2 separate regions of the Homo sapiens genome follow, and region 2 is linked to region 1. Evidence: promoter capture Hi-C in 16 types of primary human blood cells and fetal thymus (Javierre and others, 2016). All regions are on one chromosome and are shown on one strand. Each heading gives the region's core, a stretch centred on a gene start or on the middle of the fragment in contact. The rest is flanking DNA. Distances are from core to core; before and after follow the strand shown.

Region 1 (2,788 bases), core at 130-2,629:
GGGAAACCACCCTTTTTTAAAACAAATATATCCTCACGTGTCAACTTCACAGTCAGGCTTCCTTTCTTGGGGAGAGCCCTTTCTCCATTCAGATCAAAGGTTAGCCTGTGAATTCTCCCCCAGAGAAATGTGGGAGCCCAGAGGTGGCTGAATATGACCAGCTAGAAGCAATGTCTTCTTAACTGGGCCACCAAGGAGCTTCAAGACCAGTGCACATTTTCTAGTTCAGTGGTTTTCAAATGCCAAGTTTTGATGCATTATTAGCTTGTGAAATAAATGTAGTGGCCTCTAACTAGCGTTTTGTAAAACAAAGTAAAATAGAGGAAACATTTTTAAACCAGATTTTTCCAAATGGAAGGGGAAGTTTTGTTTTTGTGAAACTTTGGTTTTGGGTATGGTTGTGTGTGGGTGTGTGCACTGTGATATTGTGTACAATGGTGATTTTTACAGTGGATCACTGACAGAGAATTTGGATAAACACCGTTGTAGTGCATCCAGGAGAGATTTGCAATCATAGGGAGAGGTCGTTTTAGACAATTACTCCTGCAAGTCATACATTTGAAGTTAAAACAACAGCCACAATGACAATAACAAAAACAGTAAACCTGGTAGGCAGGCAGGTGAGGGGTAGGGGAGGGGGTCAGGAAACATGAAAATGAAGAATCCTGGACTGGACTGGCTGCACTACTTGCGATTAAACTGCTAGACGTGTTCCTGCAGCTGGGAGGCAGCAGCCCTTCCCAGGAGCACCACATTGCCTGAGCAGAAGGTCCAAGTTATAATCTGGTGGGCAACCTTATGTTTAAAAACAGACACACAGACCTGCCAGCCTCACCTGGTATTGGCGAGAGAATCCTAAGGTGTTCGTTGCTAGTCTTGCTTGGGGGAGGTGAACACAAAACAACAGTGCATTAGAAAGAGCCTCGCCTTTGGAGTCAGACAGACCTGGGTCTCACTGTTAGCTCTGCCATTTATTAGCCCTTGGGCAAAACGTTTCATATTTCTCTTAGCCTCAGTTTCCACATCTGTCAATTGGGCATAAAAAGATATACTTCATAAGGTGGCTCTGAGGGTTAAGTAGAGTAGCCTATCTCGGACAGCCTAATAAGTATTCGTTCCCTCCACTTACCTTGTGTACCGTAGCTCCCCCTGCCACTGGGAAACAGACCACCTCGTAGGGAGGACGCTTTTCTTTTCCTTTGCCGTCATCGCTCATAGCGGTGCAAGCGCGTGGACAAGCAGTGGGAAGGGGATGGTCCAGGAGCCACACTCAGGACTCTAAAGAGGTACCTCAGGCAGTGATCCCCTGCCTGGAGTTGGACCCCCCTACAAAGAGCCAGGTTGTGGCAGTGACCTCCCCGTGATTCCGAGGGCTGCCACATCACCACCAAAGTCCAGCTCTCCTGCTTCGGCACAAGGCTGTGACTTGTCATTGATGTTTTGGGTCACGGACCTTTTCCACTCACGGAATTCCACTTCTGTTCTCCAAGCAGCTCTCTGTCTAACCAGTAACTGCGACTCTCCTCCAGGTGGAAGATCTCACCGCCAGCCATGATGCTGCTCTCCTAGAGATGGAAAATAACCACACAGTTGCCATCACAATCCTGCAGGATGACCACGACCACAAAGTCCAAGGTAGCTCCCAGCCTCGTGTGCAGCAGGCAGGGGTGGGTGGTGCAATCCGAGCCTTTCCTGCTGCAGATGTGTGGAGCCCCCCTTCCTCTCTTGTCCCTCCTTTCCTGTCTTTCCCTCCTGGTGCATTTTTTCCTGTTGGCTCCTGGGAAAAGAAGAGATAGGAATTAAGGATCCAGGTAGTTAGCTGCTTCTTTCCTCCAATGCAGTTATCCTCAACCTTGATGAATACTGGAATTCCCCGTCCCCTGGGGAGCGGTAACAAAAGACCAATGCCAGCCTCAGTCCCACCCCAGGGATTCTGATGTCCTTGGTCCATAGTGCAGTGTAAACATCAAGATTTCTTAAGACTCCTTAGGGGATTCTAATGTGTAGCCACACTTGAGGGCCACTGTCTAAAGCAGGCATGGAAATCGTGCACTTTTTTTTTTCCTCTTTTTTTTTTTTTTTTTTTTTGAGACAGAGTCTCACTTTGTTGCCCAGGCTGGAGTGCAGTGGTGCGATCTCAGCTCACTGAAACTTCTGCCTCCTGGGTTCAAGCGATTCTCCAGCCCCAGCTGGAGCCTCCAGCCCGAGTAGCTGGGATTACAGGTGCCCACTACCACACCCGGCTAGGCTTTATGATGTTTATTGCCTTATAAAAACAAATGGAAGCCCCGGCATGGATACACTTTCTTCATATTTATGATGTTCTCCGGGCCACTGCAGCATCTGGTTGGATCGGGGTATCCAGAGCTTACACTCATAGACCACATTCACCGTGGGTGTGCGTTAAGTCTCCAGATCTTTCTTTCTACATTTTTGTAACTTTGAATTATCTTTGGGTTTTACGTGGGTCATAACAGCATCATTACTAAGTTCCAGTGAGATTTTCCTTTGTGAAAGAGGCAGCATTTTACACTTTCACATGCATTTACATTAATATGTACAGTTTATTTTTCAACTTTCTCTCGCTTTACTTTTCCCTCCCAGTCAGCTGGTTGTTAAAGTGTGTATTAAAGGCCGGGAGCCGTGGCTCACACCCGTAATCCCAGCACTTTGGGAGGCTGAGGCAGGTGGATCACCTGAGGTCAGGAGTTCAAGACCAGCCTGGCAAACATGGCAAAACCCCGTCTCTACCAAAAATACAAAAATTAGCCAGGCGCGGTGGGCTGGC
Region 2 (2,788 bases), core at 150-2,649, 240 kb after region 1:
AACTATTAACAAGAAAAATAAATGATTATTGTAAGCCACTGAGAATTTGGAGTTGTTATTCAGCATTATAGGAGAGACCTAAGTAATACAATTATCTGACTCTCCTCCTCTGCTCCTTCATTAAACCCTATCTGTGGATCTCAATAACATCTTAAAATCCCGTCCTTCGCTTCATCCTCAGTGCCACCACCATCTGAGCCAAGCTACTGCCACTTTTTCTCTGGGCCACTGCAATGACCTCCTGCCTGTTCTCACAGCCTTTGCTCTGGCCACGTGGCACTTAGCTCTCCATCCAGCAGCAAGGGTGACCTTGGAAAGGAATTACATTAATAGCAGGAATGGGTCTGAATGCTATCTTAGCCCAGGGTGTTCTGTTATTCTCATCCACATACAGAAATGAGGGATCTCTTCCATCTAAAGCATCACTAGCCCATTTGGGTATGTCCTTGTTACTATTTTCTCTCTGGGAAGGGAATGTACATAGGTCATCAGCAATTTAATTGAGAGGATAGTTTGGATGGACTGAACAAAAAGGGGTGTTGCCTCTGCTGGGTTAGTGACAGCAAAGTGCAGGCAATTGGGAAGATGGCCCCTCAGCCCAGGCCACTGACAAGCCACATGCTTTCCCCCAGATATGGGCAGTCTGTGGCTGGGTTAGGGAAGCCTGGCTGGGTCCCCACAGACTCCCTGATGTTTTTGGGGGCAGAGGGTGAGCAGTCTCTCCACACAGGCTCTTCTTTGCTCTTGATGTGGTTCCCACAGGTCAAGAAGGCCCTCTGGCCTCTGTTCTTCTCCTCTTAGTCCACTCCCCTCCTCCTGCATTTACTCCAGCTGATCACTGTCTACTCACCTTTGAATGAACTTTGTTGCCCTGCTCTTTTCAGGGCTCTGCCTTTTGAGTCACTAAAAGCTCTGCTCTTAAAAATCAGAGCTTTGGTTATTTCTATGATCTCTGAAGTGGAAGTCGATGGTGGAACATTGACCCTGGCTCTGTCTTTGCTTTCCAAGAAAGCACCGTCTTAATTCACCCCAGCAAGAGATGCTCTGACTTACGAGTGCAAAAGAAGAAAAGCCCAGTCATGTGTGAATAGCTTTAAAACATCTCAGTGTGCACCAGCATCACTGCACCTCTCCCACTTGAAATGGCCCATGGCTTTCTATTGCGCTTAAGATAAAAATATTCAATATAGCCCCGAAGAGCTCAAATGGTCTGGTTTTTTCTTTTCTGTCCACCTGGATATTTGCACTGCAGCCACTGCAGCCTGCTTTCTGTACCTCAAATAAGCCATGCTCTCTCCTCATGGAATCTCCTCTCCCTTTTCTCCACCCTTAACTCCTTCTCTTCCTTCCTCTGGTAGACACCTCTCGACCTACCCAGCTTCTGTGGTTCCTGCAGGATGAACCCCCATATCCTGCCTCCCTTTATCTCAGGTGTTTCTTTCACTTCTTGGGTTAGTTGGTTACTATCTCTCTCTCTCCCTGATTCTGTAAGCTGCTGGAGGACTGACATGTAGTTCTCTTTTTCACCACTGGTCTTTAGCGAATGAATGAATGGAATAGATGGGTGAATGGATGGTAGTTCCTCATTGAAGACAATCTTGCAATATTGAAGTTTGCAATATTCTGGTGGTTTGATGCCAGGCTGTCTTTGAGGCTTTGCTGCAAATAGGGAAAAGATGTTCATCTGCCAAGGGGAGTTTAACTGGCTGGTGATATGAGAATCCATTGGGTCCTAATCCAATTTTATTCATCAACATGATCGATGGGTGGATAGAGCCTTCTGAATGGCTGGAATACATAGCTGCCTCTGGGATAATTTGAGGTGGGAGAATTAAGTCTTCCTAAGTCACCTGCTCCTCCCCTCTGGAAATGTTACCCCTCATGTGGGCTGCTCTTCAAGAATCTTCCACTAAATTCAAATAATTCTAGGAGGGCTCAGTCCTCATGAGCTACATTTTAGGCAGCTGAATGGACAGCTGAGCCCTGGAGATCAGGGGAGTGGGATGGGGAAGCAAGAGACAGGCAGGAGGAAAGAGAAATGGAGAGGTGGTCAGGAGGCAGGCACTGCGGATGAGACCCTGGCAGGGGAGTCAGGCATCAAACGTCGTCACCTTCCCAGATTTGCCACACTCTGGTCCTTTTACTTTCATGCCTCATGATTTGACAAAAATGTCATTTCTCCATTTTGACTTTTTTTCCACTTCAAGGAAGAAAGATACAAAAACAAACAGGAGAAATTTCTTCAGAGGTAAATGGAAGCATCTGGACATGGACATAGGATGTTTGGCATGTGAGTGTCTCCTCTGGAAAACTTCATTTAGTCCTCCATTTATTCCTTCAAGAAATGCTATTGAGTGTCTACCACGTACCAGGTACTGCGTAGGCTCCGGAAATAGAGAGTGAACAAAATAGACAGCTTTATGCCATAGAATTCTGGGAATTTCCCATGAAGGCTTCGAGAGAAAAAAGCATGCATTCTCCTGTGTCTGCCCAGACTCCCATGGCTTGGAACTGCCCGATGTGATGGGACGTGGGACTTGGGGAAAGTTGAGGAATATATTGTATTGTTGGGAGGCATAGCAAGCATATGAGCAAAAAGGAAACCCTTCTTCTTTCCCATCATGTTTGGGTTTTGGTGACAGGGCATGGGAAGATGAGGGGAAAGAGGGATGTGAGTTAGGTGCTGGATTCCAGGAAATGTCTTCACTGAAGTTTGAATATTCTGATATCCTGATGCCAGCCTGAGGCTTTGAAGTTTTCCTGCAAATAGGGAAAAGATGTTGGTCTG

What was found. Contacts are between HindIII fragments. The CHiCAGO score rates a contact against its expected background, and 5 or more counts as called.
Region 2: a contact is called between a fragment that was not itself captured here and the fragment with the promoter of MTUS2-AS1 in region 1, in 3 of 17 cell types (M1 macrophages, endothelial precursors and M0 macrophages). The highest score is 5.5, in M1 macrophages.

Annotation. Positions count from the first base shown.
Region 1 is chr13:29,486,371-29,489,158 of GRCh38, forward strand. It overlaps MTUS2-AS1 (MTUS2 antisense RNA 1), which reads right to left and starts at 1,380. Exons shown (of 3, transcript NR_046378.1): 1 at 1,130-1,380. It overlaps MTUS2 (microtubule associated scaffold protein 2), which reads left to right. Exons shown (of 16, transcript NM_001033602.4): 11 at 1,530-1,635. The HindIII fragment of the contact is 24,751 bases long and covers 1-2,788 here.
Region 2 is chr13:29,728,888-29,731,675 of GRCh38, forward strand. No RefSeq gene overlaps it. Among named protein-coding and RNA genes, the nearest start is that of UBL3, 120 kb to the right of the region's middle. The HindIII fragment of the contact is 6,285 bases long and covers 1-2,788 here.